6 separate regions of the Homo sapiens genome follow, and regions 1, 2, 4, 5 and 6 are each linked to region 3. The links are contacts of gene promoters, found by promoter capture Hi-C in human tissues and cell types (Jung and others, 2019). All regions are on one chromosome and are shown on one strand. The core of a region is centred on a gene start or on the middle of the fragment in contact, and the rest is flanking DNA. Distances in the headings are between cores, read along the strand shown. Region 1 overlaps NRG2 (neuregulin 2). Region 2 overlaps NRG2 (neuregulin 2). Region 3 holds the start of PSD2 (pleckstrin and Sec7 domain containing 2). Region 4 overlaps UBE2D2 (ubiquitin conjugating enzyme E2 D2). Region 5 has its middle 13 kb from the start of CXXC5. Region 6 overlaps NRG2 (neuregulin 2).

Region 1 (4,512 bases), core at 2,013-4,512, 230 kb before region 3:
ATTACAGTTTGACCTCTGGCACAAATTATTTATATTCCTCACACATGAAAAATATACTCATCTCCACCCAAAACCTCCCCCTGGCCCCCTGGCCAATGTGTCATCTATTATGGCATCAGGCTCAGGTTCAGGAGCCAGGGTCTCATCGTCTCAATCAGGTCTATGTGTAGTTGAGACTCCTCAATGCAGTTCCGTGGGTATAGCAACTCGAGTACTGCTCCTCTTGATCTGAAGACTGTGAACTCAAGAGACAAGTTATCTGTCCTCCACACCAAATACAACACTGGGATAGATTTGGGATAACTACTACAGATGCCTGTTTTAAAAAATTGGTAACACTTACATTTTAAAATGACTATTTTTATTTTTTTCTTCAGATTTTGAAATAATTTCAGACTTATTATAATACAAGAAAGTTGCAAAAATAGTACAGAGTTCCTAAATACTCTTTGCCTAGCTTCCTCAAATGACACAACACGTAAAATGATTAAAACCAGGACATTAATAGTACGGATGCAATACTATTAGCTAATCTATAGACCTTATTGAAATTTTGCCAGTTGTCTTACTAATGGCCTTTTCCTGGTCCAGGACCCAATCTAGAATCCTACATCACATTTAGTTGTCATGTCTCTTTAATTTTCTATCTACAGTAGATGATTCCATTTAGAAAGGAGGGCAACATTAGTCGCTAGTCCCTAGCAGTTTTGAAATCCAGCCTGGCATGTGAGTAGGGCTCAGTCCTATTGCCTGGGAATGATTCTTCACTGTTTGTTGTTCTACCCTGTGGCTCCTGGTTCTGTCCTCTGAATTACTCTTTTTTTCCCATAACATGTAGCCTGTGTTTGCAGCTAAGCAGTTTTCTCAGCCTGCTTCCTACTTGTAGATGTCCCTTTTCATCCAAGCTGGTGATGTTCCTGCTAGTATAGTAGTCCCCCCAATCCATGCGGGATATGTTCCACCCCCAGTGGATGTGCGAAACCACAGATAGTACTAGGCCTTATATGTACTATGTTTTTCCTACACATACATACATATGATAAAGTTTAATTTATAAATTAGGCACAGTAAGAGATTAACAACACATAATAATAACAGAACAATTATAACAATATATACTGTAATAAAAGTTATGTGAATGTGGTCTCTCTCTCAAAATATCCTATTGTATTAAACCGTGGAAAGTGAAACCATAGATAAGGGGGGACTACTATATACTTCTTTTAAAAAGTGTATGGTTTTTCCGGTGAATCCTATTGGGGTTTACTGCCTTAGACAAAAGCCACGCCCACGAATCTTCTTAACATAAGCTCTTCTCTACTTTGAGTTCCCTCTGAAGCTGCAGTGGGATAATGCTCTTTAAGATTTGTAGAATTCCTATTATTTAATAGAAAGGATCTGTGGGGCACATTCTTAAGATCTATGGAGAGGCCTGGTGCAGTGGCTCATGCCTGTAGTCCCAGTACTTTGGGAGGCCAGGGCAGGTGGATTGCTTGAACCCAGGAGTTTGAGACCAGCTTGGGCAACATATGGAGACCTCATCTCTACAATTTTTTTTTTTGAAATTAGCCAGGCATAGTGGAGCATGCCTGTGGTCTCAGCTACTCTAGAGGCTGAGGCAGGAGGCTCACTTGAGTCTGGGAGGTTGAGGCTGCAGTGAGCTGTGATTGCACCACTGCACTCTAGCCTGGGGGACAGAGTGAAACCCTGTCTCAAAAACAAAAACAAAAAAGACCCACGGAAGGACTTTTGTTTGTCTCAAACATTCTTCGAGGCATTGCCTTTGATCTTTCCGGGGTCTTAACAAAAGATATAATTCAAAAATTCTCAAACTGAGCTCAATATCTTCTTGCCATACCCTGTTATGTTTAGGACACTCCTATCCTAAATAACAGCATTTATCTAGTCTTCCAAGCTGTTAGAAATGTCAAAATCATCTTTGACTCTTTTTTCACTCTTATCCTCTGTATAGAGGACATTGACGAGTCATGACAGTTTTTACTACTGCAAAGTCTCCCCAATCCAATTCTTTTCATTCATGATGCTCTAGTTGGAACTTTTATTTTCTTTCTTTCTTTTCTTTTCTTTTCTTTTTTTTCTGGAGAAGAGATCTTACTGTGTTGCCTAGGCTGGAGTACGGTGGCTGTTCACAGGTGTGATAATAGCATACTACAGCTTGGACCTCGTGGGCTTGAGCAATCCTCCCACCTCAGCCTCCCAAGTAGCTGGGCCTGCAGTCATGTGCCACTGTGCCTGGCTTCTAGTTGGATACTTACATCTCACCTAGCCTGCCTTAGCGGCTGTAAATGGAATTCCCTAGTTTCAGACTCTCTGTTCTCTTCTATTATCTATTGCTAGAATTCACTTTCTAAAACAGAGTAATTATCTCTTCCCAACCCCAAAATCTTCAATAGCTTCCTATTTCCTGTGGCATAAAGAGCAACTTCTTCACAGGGCATGCAAGACCTTCCACAATTTGGCCCCTACCTATCTGTGATCCTTCAGTCCACTCTTTCACACTTACTCTTTGCCATAGCTAAAATGATCTACTTGACAATTTCAAACAAATTTTACATTTGTATCCTTTAGTGCTTTTGCTCATTCTGTTTCCTTGGCTTAGTATGCCTTTCCATTTCCTCTTCTCAGTCAGTTTCTTGCCTCCTCTTCCTTCTGGGCTTAGCTGAGATTCCACTTCTCCTCAAAGCTTTTTCTGATCCCCTCAGTCGGAATGAATCATGGCCTCCTGTGTTTCTGTAGCAGTTCATTGCTCTTCTGTAAACATAAAGGCCTAGTCTATCACTTGGCATAGTCGGATGGGGGAGGAGGGCAAGTGTGTGTGCGGTCCTCCAGACTGTGAGCTTCCTGAGTGCAAGATGGAGCTGCAGCAAAAGATGTATCTTCTTTATCTTTTTGTGCCTTATGTAAGTTAACCAGCAACTGCTGGGTGACTTGAAGAGAATGACCTTAGGATTTTATCTTGGAATTAAAACTGGCCATTGGGAATAAGCATCTGGCTCATGGAAGGAAACTGACCTTAGGTATGTATATATTGGTAGAAATATGAAGGCAGTAAATTGAGACAGTTACTTTAGAAAAAAAGCCAAATCTCTGATATGTGGATTTGAGTCTGTGCTTTATTAGCTTCTATGGGAAGCACCTTGAAAAGATTATTCAAGATTGGAGAATATGGCTGTTTTTTATACTACTGTATCTCGATCAACTTCATGGTACTTGGTGCGTAATAGGCGCTCAATAAACATTAACTGAGGGAAAAATGAGTGAAGAAACAGTTTCTTCTGTGTGACTCTGCAGTGTACCTACATGTGCCATGCCCAAGGAACATAGCCTGGAAAGCTGGTTCAGAATCGAGGCTTATTTATCATAAGTGATTTATCCAGGGCCCTCTTGATACTTAGAGCCTTCTGCTGTGTTACAGAGATGGCAGGTATGTGCACAGCATGACTGTTGAAAAGGAATGGCAGAATTGCAGTCTGAATCCAGCAAGCAGAAGTGACAGCAGCTGCTTTTAGGTGGCCCAGAGGAGTGTTGGGCTATGTGTGTTTAGTTGAGGAAGAGGGTACTAATCAGGCCTTGTCAGGGGTTTTTTTCGTTTTGAAATAATGAAAGTCCTTCCTGGAAATCAGCCTCCCTGGGTTCAGCCTCAGTCCACTGCTTTCTGTATGGCCTTGAGCAGGTTGTACTTACATTCTGGGCTTTTGTTTTCAGCAAATTGTAGTCTCTTCTTCAGCTGTGAGAGCTTGTGAAGAGAGTGTTTGAGCCTGTTAGGTAAGTGGCATAAAAATAGCCTCAAAATATAGAGACTGCATGGGTTTAGAGTTTTTCTTAGAAAAGTTTAGCAAAATCCTGGGTTGAGAGACAATCTAGATGTCTCAAATGTTGAATTCCTTTCTTGAAGCTGGACTTCCCCTGTATTTCCTTCTGAGTCTCAAACCCGAGCCGCTTCCATAAGTCTGTGATTGTGATAATTGGATGGGAGGGGTTAGGGCAATTTAGGAAGATAATGGGGGACTGACCTCCTCCTGCCTTTGAAATCCACAAAGGAGGGAGCGTGGGGAAATGATGAAGAGTTGATCAAAAAATGAGGATCGTCCCTCCCAAATTAGGACAACTGGCTTGGTGATAAAATCACTTTACTCTGGCCGGGGGCGGTGGCTCACGCCTGTAATCCCAGCACTCTGGGAGGCCGAGGCGGGCGGATCACGAGGTCAGGAGATCGAGACCATCCTGGCTAACACAGTGAAACCCCGTCTCTACTAAAAATTACAAAAACTTAGCCGGGTCTAGTGGCGGGCGCCTGTAGTCCCAGCTACTCTGGAGGCTGAGGCAGGAGAATGACGTGAACCCGGGAGGCGGAGCTTGTAGTGAGCTGAGATCGCGCCACTGCACTCCAGCCTGGGCGACAAAGCGAGACTCCGTCTCAAAAAAAAAAAAAAAATTGTTTTACTCTGTTAGTAACCCTCAGGACCAGATACTATGAAAACAAAAATAAAA
Region 2 (4,575 bases), core at 1,697-4,196, 150 kb before region 3:
AGCATGTGGCACCCCAGAGAGGCAGCAGGGGGTGAGCAGGCACCCTCCAGCCTGGCTGTGATCCACTATGTCCCCATGACAGCACCAGCATTTGACTGCCCTGGGCTTGAAGAGCAGGAACAATGAAAGGCCTCACTCCTACCTCTCGATAAGTAGCCAAAGAGAGACATAGACACCCAAGACACACACACAAACACTGCTCTGTATCTTTCTGCCTCAAACAAAACTGTCATTTTAGAGATGAAACTGAAGCACAGAAAGTGAGGGACTTGGCAAGGTCACATATCCAGCAAATGTGTACCTTCTCAGTCTGCATCCAGGGCTTGGCCCACATTAGGGAGGTAGCATGGGGCAGTGGAAAAAGCACAGACTTGGGGTCATCTAGGCCTAGGTTGAAAGCCCAGTTCTGCCTCTTCTCTGCAGTGTGACAACACTTGGAGCCAGTTTCCTCTTCATTAAACTTGCAGATTTGCACTGAGGATTAGAGACAACATAGAAGATGATCAATATATGGGAGCTGTTATTGGCAGCAGTGGCCAGGATACTGACTGGGCTAGTAGTCACGATGCAGCTAGGATGGTGGCTGGGAGAGGGGCTGAGTGGTGGGTTGAAATGGCGGCAGTGATCATCAAAGTGATGGTAACAATTATGTGAAGTGGATCTTTGTTTGTGGGAAAGGAGTGGTCCATTCAGGTTAGGTCCCTCAGGAAGTTCAGACCTGAATTTCTTTCCCACCACTAGAAGGCTCAATATGTGGGAGCCTTGTGGTTGGATATGACCAGATGTCAGTTGCAATGGGATTAGTTTAATTCTGGCGTGTGGAAAGTATTTGCCCCAGGAAAGGCGGCAGCTGTGATTGCAAAAGCACCTGCAGGAGGCATGGTCAGCTTGGGGATGTCCAAAGCCACCTTTACCCTCCTCCTACTCTGGTTCTCCAGGAAACTGCAAGTCACAGTCCAGCTTTGGGACCAGAACCTTCCTAAAGAAGTGGAAATGGGAAGCTCTTTAGGTTTCAGTGAAAGGGGAGACCTTAGCTCTCTTAACATCAGGGAATTTTCTACTTTGAAAGAAGCTAAATGTTCTACAGAAGGTGTATCATACTCCTGGGTGTGAGGGAACTACTGGAATTTCCAGCACTGTATGCCAGCTCCCAAGGGACAGGCAAACCCTCCAGCTCTCCCCTGAAGTAGGTTGAGATGGTACCGCCAATCATGGAGGGGGCCAGCATTAATCGTCTGTGTCCCTGGCATTGGGAGTTTGGTCTGTGGTGTGTGGCTCACTCTAGCTGACCTTCTGAGGAACGAAGAAGAAATGTTGAAACAGAGCTTGGTTCAAAGGCTGCTCTACCCAAGGGAGCCTACAATTCTCTTTCTACTAATGATCCTTTGAAATAATCCTTTTAATCAGGTTTCCCCCTAGGAAGAGTCTGGGGCACTGCTCTTAACAAATTTTCCCTTGTGTCTTTGTCACACACATGCCATTCCCAGCAGCCTTTTGCTATTTAGACAGAGGAAGGAGCCATGCAAAGAATGTAGCAGTACTAGTTGCCCTTTGGGAGGCCTCTTCCCATGACCAGGCCCCCTGCCAAGCTTTGAGGGTGTCTATTACTTCCCTTTTCTCATGCTCCAAAACCAAGGTGAGCAGGACTTGTCTAGGGGCAGCTGGTAAATATGAACACCTAGCCATGGCCAGACACCCAGCAAAGCCTTCTTTAGAAGTAACCATTTATGTGTGAACCTTAGAAACGTGACTTTTGAAGACTAAAGGAAAGTTCTCTGCACCAAATAGCAGTTATGCTGGGGTCATTCCTTAGAGTAAGATATTCTTCTTAAGTAAAATATAAGTTCCTTAGCTAAAATAGAATAGAAGCCTAGAAGGAAAAAAATATATATGTACAGAAGTCTGACAAGACGTACATCAAAATGTTTCTAATTATTATCTTCAGGTAGTGGGTGTTCTAGTGACTTTTATGCCTTACTTGTACTTATTGAGAATTACTTTTGAAATAAGAAAAAAAAAAGTATTAGTTAAAAATTCCCTTAAAGGAAGGTCACACTCCATTACTCATCTGTTCTTCAGTAAAAATTAGTTCTGGGTCTTTTCCTAAGAGCAGGATTTGCTAGAGAGAGGGAGATCATCTCTGAATCCTTAACCCTAAAATAGTGATATCATAGTTTGTACATAGCATGACCATTATATGTCTGTGGAATAATGTATTGATTGATTTTTTAAGGGCTGTTGGAGTGGTGGAAATGATGAAAATTTGAGAGAGGAAAGATGGGGGCTCCTCAAACCTCCTTAATATGCAGCTTCTTTCTCCCTTAAAGGGAGAGAGGAAACAGGAGATTATTTTTATAGTGGTCAAATTAGTCTTATCAGTTTCATTCCTCACTGAAGTGTCTACACTACAGATTTTTGGAGAAGCCTATTGGTAGGGAATTGAAGCCTCAGGGTCACTGAGAATCCTAGAAGCCTCAGGGTCACCGAGACTCAGAGGCTTTGTTAATTGAACATGGCTGCCTGTGGCTGCGGAGCTTGCCTATGCCGAGGGAATCTTGACTCTAGCCTCTGTCTTACCCTCATGTCCAATCTGAAATCAAGTCCTATACATTGTACCTCCTAAACACTTCTCAGATTCTACCAGTTCTCTTCATCCTCACTACCACTACCCTTGTCTCACCCAGAACTCCTGCAACAACCTGCTAACTGGGCTAACTCCAGTCACTTCTATTTTGTGTGCTGCAGTCAGAATAAATATTTTAATATATGGATATTATCTTATGATTATACTGCTTAAAACCATTCAACAACTTCCCATAGCACTCAAGATAAAGTCCAGACCTCCTGGTATTCAGTTTTGCAATGAGGATTAGATACAACATTGCAGATGCTCAGTAAATGGGAGCTGTTATTGGCAGCAGTGGCCAGGATATTGACTGGGCTAGTAGTTGAGATGCAGCTAGGATGGCGGTCAGGAGAAGGGCTGAGTGATGGGCTGGAATGGTGGCAGTGATAATCAAAGTGATGGTAACAATTATATGTGAAGCGGACCTCTGTGTGGGAGAAAGAGTGGCTCAGGTTAGGTCTCTCGGGAAGTCCAGAGCTGAACTTCTTTCCCACCACTAGAAAGGTTGGTATGTGGGAGCCAAGAGGTTGGATATGACCAGATGTCAAGTGCAATGAGACTGGTTCCGTTCTGACTACGAAGAGTATTCGTCTCAGGAAAGAAGCCTTCTGCCTCTTTTGGTATAGTTCATTGACATTATGCTAAATGAAATTATCTAGTCACAAAAAGACAAATGCCACATTAATTCTATTGATATGAGGTGCCTAGAGTAGTCAGATTCATAGAGACAGAAAGTAGAATGGTGGCTGCCAGGGGTTGGGTGGGGGAGGAGAAAATAGGGAGTAATTGTTTATGCATACAGTTTCCTTTTCAAAGATGAAAAAAGCTCTGGAGATGGAGAATGGTGATGGTTGCACAACAATGTTCATGTACTTGGTTCCACTGATACACTTTAAAGTGGTTAGAATGGTAAATTTTACATTATGTGCATTTTACCACAATAAAAAGAATTGGAAAGAACTGGTAAAGGATCTAAACAGGCACTTCTCCAGAGGAGCTATACAAATGGCCAATAAGCATGTGAAAGTATGTTCAACATCATTAGTCATTAGGGAAATGCAAATCAGAACCACAATGATATACCACTTCACACCTATTAGGATAGCCAGACTAAAAAAGATGCATAATAATAAATGTTGGCAAGGATGTGGAGAAATGGGAACCCTCATACACTACTAATAGGAATATAAGATGGTGCATGCAGTTGGTTTGGAAAAGTCTGGTGAACCAGCAGTGCACTCCCAGGTGTACATATACCCAAGAGAAATGAAAACGTATGTCTTTACAAAAACTTGTACACAAATGTTCACAGAAGCATTATTCGTAATAAACAAAAAGTAGAAACCACCTAAATGGCCATCAACTGTTGGTTGGATTAATAAAATGTGGTATATCCACAATAGAATATTATTTGGCAACAGAAAGGAAAAAAGTACTGAAACATGCTACAATGTGGATGAACTTTGAAAACTTTATTCTAAGTGAAAGAAGCCAGTCACAAATGACCAAACATTGTATAATTTGATTTATATGAAATGTCCAGAATAGGCAGATCTTTAGATACAGAAGGCTGATTAGCAGTTTCTTCAAACTGGGGAGTTGTAGGAGGCCAAAGAGTATGGGTTTACTTCTCAGGTTGATAAAATGTTCTAAAATTGATTGTAGTCATGGTTGTACCACTCTTTGAATATATTTAAAAATCATTGAATTGCACACTTTAAATGTGTGAATTGTATGGTATGCGAACATACCTCAATAAAACTGTTTTGCCAGCAATGCACAAGCGTTCAAATTTCTCCACATCCTCACCAACGCTTGTTATCTTCTGTTTTTTTTTTTAATAGTAGCCATCCTAATAGGTGTGAGGTGGTATCTCACTATAGTCTTGACTTGTGTTTCCCTAACGATTAGTGATGTTAAGCATCTTTTCATATGCTTGTTGACCATTT
Region 3 (4,789 bases), core at 564-3,063:
GAGCAGGAAGTCATTCCTTCCAGCTATCTTTGCTCTCTCCCTTCAGGGAAGACCCTGGGAGGCACTATTTGTCAGGTCTGCTTGTGGAGCGTGCACCCCATAGTTGTCAGACCAGGACAAGCTGCAGCGGGGAGGCCTCTGGGGGCATCCCTGGGCTGCAGGGTGCAATTCACCCAAGCATTGAGACTTCAACCTTGCAAGAGGCACCAGTGAGGGAGGCCTTCCAAGGACAACCCAGTCATCCTCCTTTAGCTGGGCCACACCCACCTACTCACCCCACTGCGTGGGAATCTTTTGGGGGCTCTGGCCAAACCCTAGGGACCTGCTATGTTTCCACCAGGACCAAACTTTGCAGTAGCCCCACTCAAAAGCCCCTGTTCCCTGCTTCCCGCATATATTGGGGAAAGGGGCTGCTGGGAGGACAGCAGGCACATTTTACTGATTCGGAGATCCCAGGCCCCAGAACTTGTAGCTTCCCTGGGAGACAGGTTCCTAAAGTCCTGGGGAGAGGGTGGAAGAATGAAAGAACGACTGCAACTGCCCTGGGCCACGGGTTGGGTTTGGAGGCAGTCCCAGCCCAGTGAACCCCCCCACCCCCAACCACTATTAAGCAGCTCTTGTTTGTAGGATCTAGAAAAAGGAACTGGGGAACCCAGGAAAGTCCAAACCCAGGCTGCCCACCTGCCCTGGCCAAATCCTGAGCCCTCTCGCTGATCCCCATCAAATTCAGCCTGGCTTATCCCCAGGCTGCCAGGAGTCTTAGGCCCTCTTCCATTGTGACTGCTGCTTCTGCTCCCTGTTCTCTTCCTGGCCCCCCCAAGATGGCCCCAAGACAAAGGGGTGGGCTTGAGACAGTGGCCCCCTGGGCCTATGCAAAAACAATGCCCCCAGTGATCATTCCGGGGAGTCCCTGCATCCTCTAGGAACAGCTGAATACCTCCTCCTCCGAGGGGGCCCGCTGGGCAGGGTTGTCCCCAGTCTGGACTCCCTCTGCACCCAGCCCCAGCAGCCCGCTCCTGGGACCCCTCCCTCCCGCTGCCGCCTCGGCCATTATGTGCCTCCTCAGCCCTGACTGCCACGCCCCCGTGCGAGCCCCCGCTCTAGCTGCAGAGCCGGGGAGGCCTGGCCGCCAAGCAGGGCTGTCAAAGTTGGGAAACTGGAAACAGAAATAAATCCTCAAAGCTGCAGCCTCGTGAAGGTGGCTGCCGGCAGGCCCCGGTACCCAATGCCCCGATCCCCGACCACCAGGCTGCCACTGGCACCCCCCACGCACACGCGTACCCCCAGATTATACAAAAGCGGGGAGAGGGTAGTGGGTGGCGGAGCCGGGAGACAATCGGCCCGGCAGCCCCCACCGTCCCTCAGGCTGGGCTCGGGCTTTCCCGCGGCGCCCCCTCTCCCCGGCCCAGACCCGGCCAGCCCGGGCTTCCTCTCTCGGCCCCATCTCCATGACAACCGTATCCTTCGGATGCTCCAGACGCCGCGGAATTGATCTGGAAATGTAGCTTTGTTAGCGGACCCGGGTGGGCACCGAGGGCGAGGGCGACGCCCCCCACCCGCACGCGGCCCTCTCCCCGGCCCGTCCCGCCCCGGCCTGGCCGCCAGCGGGGAGGGGCGGGTCCCGGAGCCCCGCGGCCCCACTCACCGCTGCTGGTCCCCGCCGCGGGTCCGGCCTCTCACGGCGGGGCCATCGGAGGCCGCCGGGCTGCCTGTCCCGCCCCGCCGCCGCCGGTCGGAGCTGCCCGCGCCCGCCCGCGTCCCTTCAGGTGCCGGAGCCGCGATGTGGAGAGGCTGAGCGAGGGGGACGGACGGCAGGAGGGAGGGAGCGGAGCCGTGAGCTGGAGGAGGAGGAGGAGGGAGGAGCGGGAAGGGCGGGGAAGGGCGGGGGCACTGCGGGCGCGCGAGCGGCGGGCGCGGAGCCCGGAGGGAAGCGCGGCCCCCAGCCCTGTCCGCTTGCAGCGCAGCGCTCGCCCCGGGACCCCGAGCGTGCCGGGGAGAGCGCGGCCCACCTTGTCCCCCTCTGCCCCGCGCGGGCCCTTTAAGAAAGGGGGGGAGGGGAGCGCCCGGGGTTCTGCCCCCTCCTAGCCACGCTGGGCCCCTGCCGTCCTCGAACCCTCGGGCAGACCCAACCACCTCCGCCCTCCAGGCAGGACCCACCGGTCTAGAACCTGAGCTCTCGGGACCCGCCAGGCCCTGGAGGTGAAGGAGGGGGCGGGTCCTGGCCCTCCTCCCGCGGTCTGTTCAGGGAGTGACCCCTGCCCCCAGCCCCCCGACACACACGCCAGCCCCCGGGAGACGCCGCCAAGGGAGGAGCAGGGAGTGCGGGGGGCCAAGGTGAAGAATCTCAGAGAGGGAGACTGAGCCCCTGAGACCTAGAGTCACACGGGACGGGACGGAGACCTGGGCTGTGGGGTGAGAAGGAGCCTCGGGACAGAGTGGGATGGGAGGAGGCAGGAGAGAGGAGAAAGAGACAAAGGAGAAAGAACCTGAGGGAGGCGGGAGGTGAGGGGTGGGTCCAACCAAGAATCCACATCCCTGTGCCAGGTCAAGGGGAAGCCTCCCTGGGCAGATATAAGGAGACAGAGAGAGACAGAGGGTGCCCTGGGCAGAGGAAACCATCTCCCAAGGCACCTGTCCCACGGTGTCTCCCCAAGGGCAAGTCAAGGCCCTGAAGCCGCCCCCCTCAGCCCAGGACTCTAACTGAAGAAGAGGGTTGACTGGCTGTACCTGGGCTAGACATTAAGAACTTCCTGGCTGTGAGGCACCTGCAGAGTAAGAGTCCGCCTCTCAGAGAGGCATTAAAGGGCCCCCACCCACAGGGATCTAAGGAGGGCGTGGGGAGCAGGCCCAGTGCCTGGGAGAAGGGAAATCAGGATAGAGTCAGGCCCTGCCACTGGAGGCCACTTTCTACCCCTCTCCCCTACTCCAGCCCCTGGGGGGTTCACCACACCCAGTTGCTTCCATCTCCAGACCTCAGCAGATGATCCACACTCTGCCCGGTGGGGCCTTGATCCTGCTGTGCTCAGTGAACTCCTACTGAACCCTCAAATTCCTCCTTAAATGCCCCTTCCTTCATGAAGTCTTCTCTGACCTTCTTTCCACCCATGAACACACAAACATGGACTCTTCTTAGGGAGCAGGAAGAGGATTTGCTGACCTCTTAGGGTGGCAGTAATTGGAGGTGTGGAATCTGAGCTGTGCGTAGTCTCCCTCCCTTCAAGCTGGGCAACAGCAGGAGCTGGGACTTCATCAACCATGGTGACACCTCTGACAACCAAGCATCTACCAAGTGCTCTTCATGTGTCATATTTAATTCTCAAAACAATCCTACAACCCGTTTTACAGATGAGAAAACTGAGACTTGGAGAGCATAAGTCACTTGCTCATGATCCCAGGAGATCTGAATCTGTGAGCACAGCTGGTCAATTAAGAGGGCACTCAGACCACATCCTTCACTGCCCATCAAACCCTAGGACATTACCGCAGAGCCCAGAAACAAGGGAGCCACTCTCTGTGCAGGTGCCCAGGATCTTAAAGGGCACAGAGGGAGCTTGGCTTCCCTGCTGTCCTGCATTCTACCCCCCTGCCCTCTGCTACCTGTAGGCAGAGAAGGGTGGCGACCAGCAGGGGCTGTGGAGGGAAGTGCTCATGGCAGGGCTTAGATACCACATTCCCCACCCTTGGCACCCATGCCCTCAAGTCACAGCTGGACCACCTTTCTGGGCTCCTACTTCCTCATCTGCCCAATGAGGATGGTAGCAGTCCCCCTCTTTGTGAGGCTAGGATGGGGACCGAAAGAGCTGATGTGCTCAAGACCTGGCACACAGATGCACTCAATGGGCCATGGCTGTTCCAGCTGTAATGATTACTTACTCATGGAATGCACTATTTAATTGTTGTCCACTGGATGGACTCTGAGCCCCTTGAAAGGGTTCACAGTGTATCCTCAGCACCTAACACTCAGCATGGCTTAATAAATTATGTGGAAGGAAAGAACAGGGAAAGGGGAAAGGTAGACATAGCTGTCTCTCCAGCTAACTTGCGCTGGGCTGGCACACAGAACCTAGTCTCTGCCCCCTGGATCTGCCCCCTGTCCTTTGTAGCTCTGGGAGCCTGTGGCAGGGGCAAGGAGACCCGGGTTCTAGTCCAGTCCCCCCAACCCACACTTCCTAGCTGTGTGGCTATGGGCAGCTGTACCCTTTCCTGAACCTTCCTTTCCCCTCCGTCAAGTGGAACTAGCTCCCTAGGGCTCAGAGGGCTGCCTGGAGGCCACAGGTGAGCTCTGTGTGAGTGTTCTGGGTGCCATGGACACTGGAGAGGGGAGTATTGTTACTGTTCCTTGTGGCTACCTTCGCCTCCTGAAAGACAGCAGGGTCAGGCTGGGAATGGTGGCTCACGCCTGTAATCCCAACACTTTGGGAGGCCAAAGTGGGTTGGATCACTTGAGGTCAAGAGCTCGAGACCAGCCTGGCCAACACAGTGAAACCCCCCTCTCTACTAAAAATACAAAAATTAGCCGGGTGTGGTGATGCACACCTGTAATCCCAGCTACTCCGGAGGCAAGAGAATCACTGGAACCCAGGATGCAGAGGTTGCAGTGAGCCAAGATCGTGCCACTACATTCCAGCCTGGGCAACAGAGCAAGACTCAGTCAAAAGAAGAAGGAAAGAAGAAAGAAAGACAGAAAGAAAGAAAGAAAAAAGAAAGAAAGAAGGAAGGAAGGAAGGAAGGAAGGAAGGAAGGAAGGAAGGAAGGAAGGAAAGACAGAAAGAAAAAAAGAAAGAAAGGA
Region 4 (4,194 bases), core at 1,384-3,883, 230 kb after region 3:
TGAACTCCTGACCTCGTGATCCACTCACCTCGGCATCCCAAAATGCTGGGATTACAGGCGTGAGTCACCGCGCCCGGCCTACAGTATTTTTTATTTTCATTTTTTTCTTTTTCTAGACAGAGTTTCGCTCTGTCGCCCAGGCTAGAATGCAGCGGCGCGATCTCCACTTACTGCAAGCTCTGCCTCCCGGTTCACGCCATTCTCCTGCCTCAGTCTCCCGAATAGCTGGGACTACAGGCACCTGCCACCACACTGACTAATTTTTTGTATTTTTAGTAGAGATGGGGTTTCACCGTGTTAGCCAGGATGGTCTCGATTTCCTGACCTTGTGATCCACCTGTCTTGGCCTCCCAAAGTGCTGGGATTACAGGCATGAGCCACAGCGCCCAGCCCGGCCTACAGTATTTTTAAGCAATTTTTTTTTTTTTGAGATGGAGTCTCGCTGTTGCAAAGGCTGGAGTGCAGTGGCGAGATCTTGGCTCACTGCAACCTCTGCCTCCCAGGTTCAAGCAACTCTCCTGCCTCAGCCTCCTGAGTAGCTGGGATTACAGGTGAGTGCCACCACACCTGGCTAATTTTTGTATTTTTAGTAGAGACAGGGTTTCACCATATTGGGCAGGCTGGTCTCGAACTCCTGACCTCAGGTGGTCGGCCCGCCTCAGCCTCCCAAAGTACTGGGGGATTACAGGCATAAGCCACCGCACCCAGCCTAAGCAATTTTTTAAAATACAGTACTGTTCAGCGTTACAACTACTTTCTTTAAGATCATGCTTCGGTAACTTCCCAATCTCAGACATTTTCAAAGTGTATTGTCAGTCTACAGAGAAACTCAAAACATGAAACAGATCATAATGGAAGAGTAATACATAAACTTCTACGGGATCAATGTATTTACAAAACTGGTTTTCCCAAGACCTCACACAAAACCATACAAAAGGCGGGGCACAGTGGCTCACGCCTGTAATCCCAGCACTTTGGGAGGTCGAGGCGGGTGGATCACTGGAGGTCAGGAGTTTGAGACCAGCTTGGCCAACATGGTGAAACCCCGTCTCTACTGAAAATACAAAAAGTAGCTGGGCATGGGGGTGCATGCCTGTAGTCCCAGCTACTCGGGAGACTGAGGCAGGAGAATGGCGTGAACCCAGGAGGCAGAGCTTGCAGTGAGCCGAGATTGTGCCACTGCACTCCAGCCTGGGCAACAGAGCGAGACTCTATCTCAAAAAAAAAAAAAAAAAAAAAACTTAGCAAATTGGCTGGGTGCAGTGGCTCATCCCTGTAATCCCAGCACTCTGGGAGGCCAAGGCGGGCAAATCACCTGAGGTCTCAAAAAAAAAAAGCAAGTTAATTAGAATTGTATTTAAAAACTACTTAAGGCCGGGCACGGTGTCTCATGCTTGTATTCCCAGCACTTTGGGAGGCCGAAGCAGGTGGATCACAAGGTCAGGAGTTCGAGACCAGCCTGGCCAATATGGTGAAACCCCGTCTCTACCAAAAATACAAAAATTAGCTGGGCGTGGTGGTGCGAGCTTGTAGTCTCAGCTGCTCGGGAGGCTGACGCAGGAGAATTGCTTGAACCTGGGAGGCGGAGGTTGCAGTGAGCCGAGATCATGCCACTGCACTCCAGCCTGGGCGACAGAGCAAGACTCCATCTCAAAAACAAACAAACAAGAAAACTTAATCTTACATAAAGCATTACTTTCAAACTTTTAAAAATACAGAAAGTATTGTTTAAATGACTTAATCTTTTTACACTCCTGATTACTTAATGAACCCCAATCCCTGGTTACTTTAATCCACATACTAAACTGATGTCGACCAAAAATGCGTATTTTGTTGTTCTTTTTTTTTTTAAGTTGAATCGGTTGCCAAAAAATCTGGATTTGTGGCTTCTCTTTTTTTTTTGAATGGAAGATATTGCAACACTGGGCCCACAGATTTTAGCAATAGCAACATTTGCAGGGAGCTGGTTAGCAGTTGCCCTCATCTGATAGCACATGCATTTTCTAGCTCCCTCAAGTTCTCTCTGCTCACTTTGGTACCTGCCTGGCTTTTATAGACATCAGAGTTTGAAATCTTTTTGTTTGTTTGTTTGTTTGAGACAGGGTCTCACTCTGTTGCATAGGCTGGAGTGTAGCGGCTTGATCACGGTTCACTGCAGCCTCTACCTCCCAGGCTCCCGAGATCCTCCCACCTCAGCCTCCCACCTAGCTGGGACTACAGCCATCCACCACCATACCCAGCTAATTTTTTGTATTTTTTGTAAAGACCATGTTTCGTCATGTTGCTCAGGCTGGTCTCGAACTCCTGAGCTCAAGCGATCTGCCCACCTGGGCCTCCCAAAGTGCTGGGATTACAGGCGTGACCCACTGTGCATGACCCACTGTGCATGACCTGAAATCTTTATTTCATTGAGAACTTTGTCTTGAGACGCCTTAAAAGAAGCTAGCCATAGGCCGGGCACAGTGGCTTACACCTGTAATCCCAACACTTTGGGAGGCCGAGACGGACGGATCTCCTGACGTCAGGAGTTCAAGACCAGCCTGGCCAACAGGGAGAAACCCTGTCTCTATTAAAAATACAAAAATTAGCTGGGCATGGTGGTGAGTGCCTGTAATCCCAGCTACTTGGGAGTCTGAGGCAAGAGAACTGCTTGACCCTGGGAGCCAGAGTTTGTAGTGAGCCAAGATCATGACACTGCACTCCAGCCTGAGCAAGACTGCCTCAAAAAAAAAAAAAAAGAAAGAAAAAAAATCTCTATCACAGAAATAGATCAAGTGATAATCCTGGCATTACTTTGTTTGAAAGCTATGTATGCCAAACGTTATCTGCAACTAGTAGGACACCATTAAAATGTACAATGCACTATTACTGTTAAGAAAAGCTTTTAGTATCCAACTCTGGTCAGTCTTCAACTCCTCAAAGAATCAAGATATTTATTTAGCCTTTTACCCTTCCCAAGAATAGAGAAATTAACCAAATACTTCAACATTACAGCACTCTAAGAGCACCAAAAAGCCTCCTACATCTGTATAGCAAAAGTAAAGAAGAAAAACAGGAAGCAAGTCAGAAAGGTCTCCGATCAGCCAAGGAAACCACACAGTTCACAGAGCACATGAAGCCCTCTTCAGTCAAGAGCCTACTGGATCTTATTTTAGACACAATTTTAATAAGCTCTGTGATCTGGTTTCTTAGCCCACAACAGATGAGATGCAGCCAACTGGAAAAGGGCTGGGGGTGGTGCTGCTAGAGGCAGGCACTCAAAGCATCAAAATCAAGGCTGAAGACCTAAAAAGTCAGCAGAAAACCTTAAAACATAGCAGGGTGGGGCCATGTGGTGTAGATACCAACAATCCCAAAGGATCCCAAGCCCTGCCCAGAACTACACACAATGTTCATAATGACCCTCTTTGCTATGCTCTGCTTATAGTATAGGTCAGGGGACCTTAAGATGTATATCAAAATAAAGTCCATCAAAAGCTTTTTCCAAAAAAGACATGGCATTTCAAAGACTGCCAAATTCACAGACATGAATAGCGTCCCTCTGTCAAAGAAACAAGATATTGAATTCCTGAAGATGTCACATGTCAAATGTAGTTTTTCTTAGAAAAATCTTATCAGAACCCAGATGTAGCAACTCATGACATTTAAGTCAAGAAGGTATTTAAGTAGAATTATTTTTTCAGGGAATGATAATTGGGAAGGTTCAAGATCAATTATAGAAGCCAAGCAATGGGGATTCCACTGCAGACACATTACTAGGACAGAAGATAAGATAGAACTGATCTTATCCATGCCTAGGAAGTCAGCTATTCAACTTAAAATTGTGGTACAAAGAGTTTGGAAAAAAAAAATTAATCTCCATTTTGTTTTCACAATCTTTTTGAGTGGTATACCAAAATAAACTTCATTTTTCTTATCACTAGCTGTCTCAGAGAAGTCAAGCCATACTTTGTGAAGAGCTCTAGGGAATAAACTAGGGGAAAATGGTTAATATTGAATTCTAAAAGTTCAGGCCAGGCCAGATGACGTGGCTCACATCTGCAATCCCAGCACTTTGGGAGGCCAAGGTGGCAGAACACTTGAGGTCAGGAGTTCAAGACCAGCCTGGCCAACATGGTGAAATCCCGTCTCTACTAAAAATACAAAAATTAGCTGGGCATGGCGGCGGAGTGCCTGTAATCCCAGCTACTCCGG
Region 5 (4,259 bases), core at 1,693-4,192, 160 kb after region 3:
CAGGGCGCACCCGACACAGCGTCCCTCCCCATACCCGGCCCAGCTTAAACTCCTGTGGTGACAACATCCACCAGCGCTGGGAAGGGGGCTTGGGTGCAGAGGCCTAGGGCGGGCAGGCCGGCAGACTGGGGTCGGGCCACGCCATCGGGGGCTTCCTCGCGCGGTGTGGGCGGTCCAGCCCGAGCTCCGGGCGATCCAGGCCGGCTCTTCGAGGCGCCCGCGCTGGCGGCAGCCCAGGGAGTGTGTGGAAATGACACCGCCAGGGCGGCGGAGATCCCCCCTCCTGACATTGGCTGGAAAGTGGAGCAGCTCGTCAGGGACAATCAATGGCGATCGATCGCCGCGCGGCGCGGGCGGACGGTGCGGGGGAGGGGCGGCGGGGCCGGCAGGGGTGGGGGCACCCGCGGCCGAGGTCAAACAACACACTGACCCGCAAAGGGGCACAGCGGCTGAGGGGGGGGGGGGTGTCACACGGACACACAATTTGTGAAAGGAAGCACCACCATAGGCCACCCACACCACAAAGGAGGCACGCTCACCACACGGAGTGACACCACAACAGTCTCTGACACAAGTCAGAACAGGACACAACAGGGTCAGACACACCTAATGATACAACATACAGTCACACTATTCACAACCAGTTCACCATACCACAACAGATGTCCCTACACTAGACACCTACAATATCACCGGGACACAAAATGAGTCATATAGTAGCTGGTCTCAACCACACAGCAGTAGGGAGTTACATACTTTGGGTGCACAACAGTCACACAACAAAGCAAAAAAGTCATATAGTCATATCATCCATCACCACTACCTCAAAGAACATTGTCAAATTAGGTCTCTACGTTGTACAACACAATGGTGCCCATACTGGCAAAAGGATGGGACCAGGAGCCCAAGTATAGAATATGACAGGGGCAAATGCTGCCATAAGTTGCACCCCAGTAACTAAGAGAGGGATAAAGCTGTTTTGCATCTTCCAACTTGAATAAAATTATACCCCACCCAACATGGCACAATAAACAAACACCAGGCAAACCAGCATGAACTTGCAGGGTTCTGACAGGACTAAATGAGCCACTGCAGGTGAGGTGCTTAGCACAGCACCAGGCACATGGTAAGCACTCGACACACAGGTGGTCTTGGTCATTGCTAATGGTTCTATACTACTAAGTCATGTGTATATAATAATGACTGTAACTACTTAGCATCATTCTCTCCATGTTAGTCCAGTCCCTTCCAGGAACCTGATTCACCCCAGCAGCAAAACTAGTTCTGCCATCACATACACCTGGGAAACACAACTCAAGTGTTACAAACACAATTCACGGTGCTGCACTCACCCACAGAGAGGCCACATTCTCACTTCCCCCAGTATACAACCACACCCACCCCAGAATCCCCTCCACAGGGGGAGCAGGCTGTGCTCATGCAGCTGAAAGCTCTGGCTCAGAGACCTTGGTGGGGAAACCACCCCTAATCTCTCACCAGGTGCAACCCAACTAGTGTGCACTGCTACTGGCCCCATTTCCTGCCACTCTCAGAAAGCTGTAGAACACAAAGCACTTCCCTCCTAAAGGTCACCCACCTAGTTACAAAGGGACCCAGAGCCTCCCAAATAAACTCCTTAAGGACTATCCCTTGTCAGTCCCCCTTTCCATTTCTCCATTTCCCCCTAGAGAAGCTGAAGCACCAGTTTCAGTCCCCAGAAAGGCTCTCCCCATTCCAAATCCAAAGCAGGAAACAGGGCTGGCCCCAGAGCTCAGCAATCTCCCCACTCCCATTCCCAGTGGTGCATGTGTGTGGGAACAGGGCCAAGATTCATCAGTCCTTCAGCACACCCTTAAAGGCCACTCCTGTGGTTCCAGTGCAAGGCCAGCTGGGCTGTAGCCCTCACTTCCTCAGTTCAGGCCTGGGCCCACCCAAGGGCTTCCAGGAAATCTCTTGTAGCCAGGGAGCTCCCCCTAAAGGTCCTGTCTAGAATGACTCCCCACATTCCCTAGTTTTGCCTGGCTGTGTGACCTTTGTTAATTCCCCAACCTCTCTGTGCCCAGATCCCAAGTCCTGCCCACAGATCCAAGACACCCTTCAACCCCCTCACAGAGGCTCTCTTTGACTAGGGAGAGAGGTGTGGGCCTGTGACCTAGAATGTGGAGAGGAAAGATGCTGGCTGTAGGTGCCACAATCACCCAGTCATTTATCCCTCTCCCTTCCCCTTCAAACAGAGCTGGGAAACAGCTGGGGGAGATCTGGCCTCCTTCCACAGCATACCCCTCCTCCGTGGCTGGAGGCAAATCCTCCCCCAACCCCAGGCTTTTATTCACCAGGCAGGACAACTGGATTCCCTTTTGTCCCCCAAGGTAAGGGGAAGGACAGACAGACACTGGGCAAGGACACACAGTCTGGCTAGCCATGGCCATTATTCTGCCTGCTCACCCTGTTTGTGGGCACACTCTTGCAGGCCTTAACAAGTGGGCATGTGAGCCATAGGCTGCAAAAGGGCCCAGCCAGTCTTCCCCAGGTCCCTGGATGTCCCAGGAGCTAGCCCAGCTCAAAGGAGGGCAAACCTCTAGCATGTACAGGAATCCAAGAAAGATGTCTCACTGTCCAGGCCTACCTCCCTGAACCATAAGCACCCACGGTCACAACCCTTTAATTTGATAAGGTCATTTTCCACCAAGCATTGCCTATGGGTCAGGCTGGTGACCAAGTGCCCGTTTTCTAGATGAGAAAATCAAAGCAAAAGACAGATAAGTTTATTGCCCAACTGAAAACCCATGGTCTTGTGATTCAAACCCAGATCTGATCCTGTTCTTCAAAGGCTACAGAGCCTTCGTGTTTATGCATCACACCCTGATGCATAAACACTAAGGAGTGTACATGCTCACAATTCTCACTCTCAAGCTCCTGAACACATGTGCAGTCCCCTTCTGCACACACACATACAGGCTGGCCTAAGCTCTCCCATGCCTGGGGCCTGTCAGCCACATTCTCCATGGCTCCCTCCTTCTAACAGGGACAGGGACAGGCAGGGAATCTAAATTCCCGGGTTTCCGCCCTGACCCTGACCCCACTCCTTTCCCACTCAGAGAACACATACCTCCTGCTACAGCCAGAAAACCAGCCCCAGAGGGAGGCCTGGGGGAGAATAAGCAATTCTGGGGGCCAACTGCCTAAGCTCCAGTTATTTGCCTGGGTTTGACATAATAGGAAGTCAGCAGCTTTCCCTGCAGGTAGCTCCCACCCTCTAGCGAGGCTAGACCCAAGGCTTCCCTCCTTATTCCAGAAACTTTCTTAGTTGAGATTCCTTTGGATCCAGCAAAATCCCTCACATGATTAGGCACTACAGCAGGACTCGTGGAGCTCTCAATACACCGTTCTCCTTAGAGTCTATCAGTAGGCAAAAGCTTAGGTTCTAGGTACCAACAGCACCCAGGCAGCTTTCCCCATCTAGGGGCAGTGGTAGCTAATTCTCACAGCCCTGCCTGGGGCTCCCAAATAAACTCCTTGACCTGGGAATTTAGATTCCCTGCCTGCCCCTGTCCCTGTTAGAAGGAGGGAGCCATGGAGAATGTGGCTGACAGGCCCCAGGCATGGGGGGCTCAGCCACTTGGTGGGCTCAGCAAATCTGGAACATTTGCATATCCAGATGGCCAAGCCTTGAATTTCAAAGATTTCCCCATGAAGAGGCAGCTGGCTTCCGGGTGGTGGCCCTGGACGCTCACACCTGTTGGGCTGGAAGACTGAGGAGACCAGGGCCCCAAAATACAAGATAAACTTGAAACAGACAAGAACATTTCCCAGGCCCTATCACTAGCCCCCAACTCTGCTCCTTCTGTCCCCAGGCCTCCATCTTCAAGGTCTAAGGAGCCATGTGCTGGTTGCCCAGGGTAGGTGGGCAGGCAAGTGATAATGGACTGCTGCCTCTGTGACCTGCTAGAAATATGGGATCTCCTTGTTCACATGCAGCAATAGACAGATCTTTTCCTGCATGTAACCTGGAGCTAGGTGGGCAGAGGTCCTAACCTGGAGCCTGGTTCACCTATTCACACACAGAGACATGGCTGCCATAGCAACGGGGAGGGCAGAGGGGAGCTGGCAGCTTGACACTTCCAGTAGGCTTTGGGCTGAAATACAAGTCACTAACCTTTTCCTTCACTGTAAGGCTGAGAACCTGACTGAACTTGGCACTGGCCCATCTGATTCTGGATATACCACGCACAAAGCTTAAGTCCGAAAGAATCTCCCCA
Region 6 (4,255 bases), core at 1,282-3,781, 140 kb before region 3:
GGTTTCTCCATGTTTTCCAGGCTGATCTCAAACTCCTGAGCTCAAGCAATTGGCCCACCTTGGCCTCACAAAGTGCTGGGATTACAGGCGTGAGCCACCACACCCAGTCTCTCTTAATTCATTTTTAACTTTAATTTTGTCATGGTCAAAAAACGTATCTCTTAAAATCTACTGAGATTTGCTTTTACGGCCAAGCATATTATTAATCTTGCTAAACGTTCTATGTGTTCTTGAATATGCATTTTGCATTTTGGGGGTATAATTTGCTATAAATGTAAATTAGGTAAGGTAGTTAATAGTTCACTCATTTCTTTCATATCCTTATTGAGATTTTGTCTAACTAACCTATCAATTACTCATAGAAAAGTATTAAGATTTCCAGCTTTGATTGTGGGTTTTTCTATTTTTTCCTTAGTTCTGTCACTTTTTGCTTCATATAATTTGAAGATCTCTTTTTAGAGGCATATATATTTTAAACTGTTCTGTATCTCTCATGAATTGACTCTTCTATTATTAAATTTCTTTGATTCTAGTATATTCCTTTTCTTGAAGCCTATTTTGTCTTGTATTAAGAGAGCTATTCCAGTTTCCTTACCTTTAAGGTTTGTGTAATTTCCAGCCTTCTGCTTTTAGTTTTTACTTTTGTTATTTGCATGGTTTTACAGTATTTTACTTCTAGTCTATTTGTATCTTAGTATTTAAAGTGTCCCTTTTGAGGAAAGCACATAATTTGTTCTTGCTTTTTTTTTTTGAGACGGAGTCTCACTCTGTCAGCCAGGCTGGAGTGCAATGGTATGATCTCAGCTCACTGCAACCTCCACCTCCTGGATTCAAGCCATTCTCCTGCCTCAGCCTCCTAAATAGCTGGGATTACAGGCAGGTGCCACCATGCTCGGCTATTTTTTGTATTTTTAGTAGAGACAGGGTTTCACCATGTTGGCCAGGCTGGTCTCAAACTCCTGACCTCAAGTGATCCGCCCACCTTGGCCTCCCAAAGTGCTGGGCTTACAGGCGTGAGCCACCGCGTGCGGCCTGTTCTCACTTTTTAATATAGTCTGTCAATCTCTGCCTTTTAATTGGAGTCAGACCACTTACATTTAATATAATTATTAATATGATTTTTTAAAATTTTTAAATAAATACTAGTTTATTTGAGCCTTTTTCATTTATGGTTTAACCATCCAATATGTCTGTTTACTTCAGTTCTTTTTCTTCTTGACACTTCTAGGAGATTTCTTTCTCTATTCTCTTTCTCTTTCCTCTTTCCTGAATAAATTTTATTGTGTATACTTGAGATTTTACAACATGCTATTATGGGATACATATAGATAGTAAAATACTTACTATAATAAAGTAGATTAGCATATCTGTTATTTCACAGTATTTTTTGTGTGATAAGGACAGATAAAATCTACTTAATGAACCAAAATCCCAAATACAATTCTATTAACTGTAGTTCTCATGTTGTACCTTAGGCCTCTAGATCTGTTCATCCTACATATCTGCTATTTTTATCCTTTGACCTCCATCTCCCAATTTCCTACCTTGCCACTCTCATGGTAACTAATGCTTCATTCTCTGTCTCATGTATTTGAGCTTTTTTTAAAAAAAAAAATCTACTAATAAGTGAGATCATGCAATATTTTTCTTTCTGTGTCTGGCTTATTTCCCTTAGCATAACATCTTCCTGTCCTCCTGGTCCATCATGATGTGGCAAATGGCAGAATTTCCTTTTTAAAGCCTGAAAAATAGTTCACTGTGTATACACACACACACACACACACACACACACACACACACACACTACATTTTCTTTATCCATTCATCCATCTATGGGCATTTAGATTGTTTCCATATCTTGGCTAATGTGACTAATGCTTCCATGAACATGGGAGTGCAGATCTTTATGAAGTGGTGATTTTGTCTTCTTTGGGGATATACCGAAAAGGGGGATTTCTGGGTCATATGGTAGTTCTATTTTAAATTATTTTAGGAATCTCCATATTGTTTTCCATAATGGCCGTACCAATCTACATTTCCACTAGCTTTGTACAATGGTTCCCTTCATTCCATACCCTTGTCAACATTTGTTATTTCTTGTCTTTTTGATAATAGCTGTCCATACAAATGTGAAGTGATAGCTCGTTGTGGTTTTAATTTGCATTTCCCTGGTAGTTCATTAAATAAGCCAGTTTCTTTTCATTTGTCTTCAAGTTAACTGATTATTTCTTCTGCCATCTTAAATCCTCAGTTGAGCCCATCTAGTGATTTTTTAATTTTACATTTAATTTGTACACCTTAGCTCTGTAATCCATTTTAAAATGTGTTTCCATTTCCTTGTTGAGATTCCCTACTTGTTTGTTTCTTGATGGCATATTTTCCTATAATTATTTGAACATATTTATAATAAATCCTTTGAATTCTTTATCTTCTAAATCCAATATCTGGATCCAGTTGGAGTTCCTTCAAAATTAACTTGGTTGTACTTGGCCTTTGGGCTTCACTCTTTAACCTTGGCCCCAGCATTTTCCTTGTAGCCTCGGACCAGGGGAAGGGCCTCCTTTCTGTTTCATCTCTTCCTACCCTACTCTCAGGAACCTACTGTCATCCCACCTGCTCTATGTTGACTTCCCTGATGATTGGGACCCTCAGAGATCTTGTTACTCTCTGAACTACTATGTTTAAATTTATATCCCATAATCCAGTGCTGGACCATGTCCTGTTGTTTGCTAATGTTTATGTACTTTGTATTCCTAACTAGATTATAAACTCTTTCAGGATTGGGAATATGTCTTTTCCTCTAGAATATCAGTACATTGAGTTCCCTCTGTATGACAGGTCTTGGCCTGAGCACTTTATACTACCTTTCATTTAGTCTTCAGAACACCCTTGTATGATAGGTATCATTATCCTCATTTTCCATATGAGGAAACTAAGACCCAGAAAGGTTAAATGATGAAGCCAAAGTTAGTGCCAAAGTTAGTGAGAGAGAATGACTAGGCGAGCATTCAAACTCAGATCTATCTCACTCAAAGCTCATGTGGCCATGGCTTTTTATTCTAGTTGGACTTGTAACCTCTTATTCTTTCTGGCCACTAGTCTGACTGTTACCGTGTGAAACAGACCCAGATAAATCTGTGGATTCTTTGAATGGGGTCTGGTGGCCCAATGTTCCCTGCACAGCGTCTTGTTACTTCAGACAGCATCCCATGGCCTGCCTGTCTGCTTTAGCCCTGGCTGTGCTCTTCATCAGGATCCACCCATGGGCTGCTGCACTCAGAACCCCTGCTTGGTAGCCCAAAATAGCCTTTGTTTTCTCCTGGTGGCTGGTGGATTTTCCTCAGCCATTTTTGCCAAGTGGAGCCATGAGTTGGAATAGCAACAGGTGGTAAGTATCTAGAAGCCAATGAGGCATGCACTTTATTGTCAGAAGCAGAAGTGTGTTCTGCAGAGATGGAAAGCAGACCTCCTACCAGCAGAGGAAACACAAACCAAAGGGAACCTTCCCGAAAGTTTGAACAGAACTCTGTTCCTTTTCTGTCTCTGAGGCGTGGAGGAGTGTGGTCCTCTTTGTTGAATCCTTTTCCAAGCATACCTTACACCTGCCTAAAACAGGTAAAATGTAAATCATCTCTTTGCAGGGATTCTTTAGGATACATCTTGTTTTCCGTGCCTTATAGACATGATCATCTCCTTGCTGCTTAGCCAAGTCCTTTGGTTTACTCCAGCATCTGCAGACTGGAAGAGAAGACTTCTCTTTTAACTCACTCACCTTCTTGCCCCAGGGAAAGTAGGAAACAGCACATTTGTTGAAAGAGACAAGTTCTGCATTAGGCTGGTTGTTTACTTGGGTCTGAAAGACAATAAACCTGGTCCTCACTTGGAGTAGGAGAAACTTAGGAAAAAGCAAGGGTGCCATGGAAAACCACTAATCCTCGTTTGTCCCACAAACAATCATGTTAAAATCTTGGTACAGAAGCCCCCTCTGAAGCTGAAATGAATGTCTTGGGTTAAGAATGTTGTCACAATGGCTTACCCTATGTGACATCACGAATTCAGACAAATGAGGTGTGACTGTCCCACTTTGGGGGATGCTATCCTATTTGGTGATTTTCTTGCTTTTTCTCCAAGGTAAAGTCAGAATCGATTGAAATATCAGTCACTTTCTCACTGACAAAGTGACACAGCAGCCGATGGGAGGGTTGACCTGTGAGGAATTTGTGGAGCGTCAAGCCCCAGCCAGAGGAAGGAGTCA

What was found. Contacts are between HindIII fragments. The study calls those that stand out against the background at their distance.
Region 1: a fragment that was not itself captured here is called in contact with the fragment with the promoter of PSD2 in region 3 in 4 of the 25 tissues and cell types used here (dorsolateral prefrontal cortex, heart left ventricle, mesendoderm cells and 1 more).
Region 2: a contact is called between a fragment that was not itself captured here and the fragment with the promoter of PSD2 in region 3, in 3 of the 25 tissues and cell types used here (dorsolateral prefrontal cortex, mesenchymal stem cells and spleen).
Region 4: a fragment that was not itself captured here is called in contact with the fragment with the promoter of PSD2 in region 3 in 2 of the 25 tissues and cell types used here (dorsolateral prefrontal cortex and psoas muscle).
Region 5: a contact is called between a fragment that was not itself captured here and the fragment with the promoter of PSD2 in region 3, in 4 of the 25 tissues and cell types used here (H1 embryonic stem cells, dorsolateral prefrontal cortex, heart left ventricle and 1 more).
Region 6: a contact is called between a fragment that was not itself captured here and the fragment with the promoter of PSD2 in region 3, in 3 of the 25 tissues and cell types used here (liver, mesendoderm cells and thymus).

Annotation. Positions count from the first base shown.
Region 1 is chr5:140,024,201-140,028,712 of GRCh38, reverse strand. The region is part of intron 1 of NRG2 (neuregulin 2); the gene reads left to right. Among named protein-coding and RNA genes, the nearest start is that of NRG2, 17 kb to the left of the region's middle. The HindIII fragment of the contact is 8,374 bases long and covers 1-4,512 here.
Region 2 is chr5:139,946,895-139,951,469 of GRCh38, reverse strand. All of the region lies in intron 1 of NRG2 (neuregulin 2), which reads left to right. Among named protein-coding and RNA genes, the nearest start is that of NRG2, 94 kb to the left of the region's middle. The HindIII fragment of the contact is 4,829 bases long and covers 532-4,575 here.
Region 3 is chr5:139,792,832-139,797,620 of GRCh38, reverse strand. It overlaps PSD2 (pleckstrin and Sec7 domain containing 2), which reads right to left and starts at 1,813. Exons shown (of 15, transcript NM_032289.4): 1 at 1,646-1,813. RefSeq lists a silencer at 2,095-2,294. The HindIII fragment of the contact is 20,038 bases long and covers 1-4,789 here.
Region 4 is chr5:139,564,576-139,568,769 of GRCh38, reverse strand. All of the region lies in intron 1 of UBE2D2 (ubiquitin conjugating enzyme E2 D2), which reads right to left. Among named protein-coding and RNA genes, the nearest start is that of UBE2D2, 5.3 kb to the right of the region's middle. RefSeq lists enhancers at 271-772, 3,036-3,175, 3,366-3,465. The HindIII fragment of the contact is 5,297 bases long and covers 1-4,194 here.
Region 5 is chr5:139,633,560-139,637,818 of GRCh38, reverse strand. No RefSeq gene overlaps it. Among named protein-coding and RNA genes, the nearest start is that of CXXC5, 13 kb to the left of the region's middle. RefSeq lists silencers at 1-311, 561-855, 1,302-1,521, a cis regulatory region at 1,331-2,166 and an enhancer at 4,201-4,259. The HindIII fragment of the contact is 7,601 bases long and covers 1-4,259 here.
Region 6 is chr5:139,929,771-139,934,025 of GRCh38, reverse strand. The region is part of intron 1 of NRG2 (neuregulin 2); the gene reads left to right. Among named protein-coding and RNA genes, the nearest start is that of NRG2, 110 kb to the left of the region's middle. The HindIII fragment of the contact is 8,415 bases long and covers 1-4,255 here.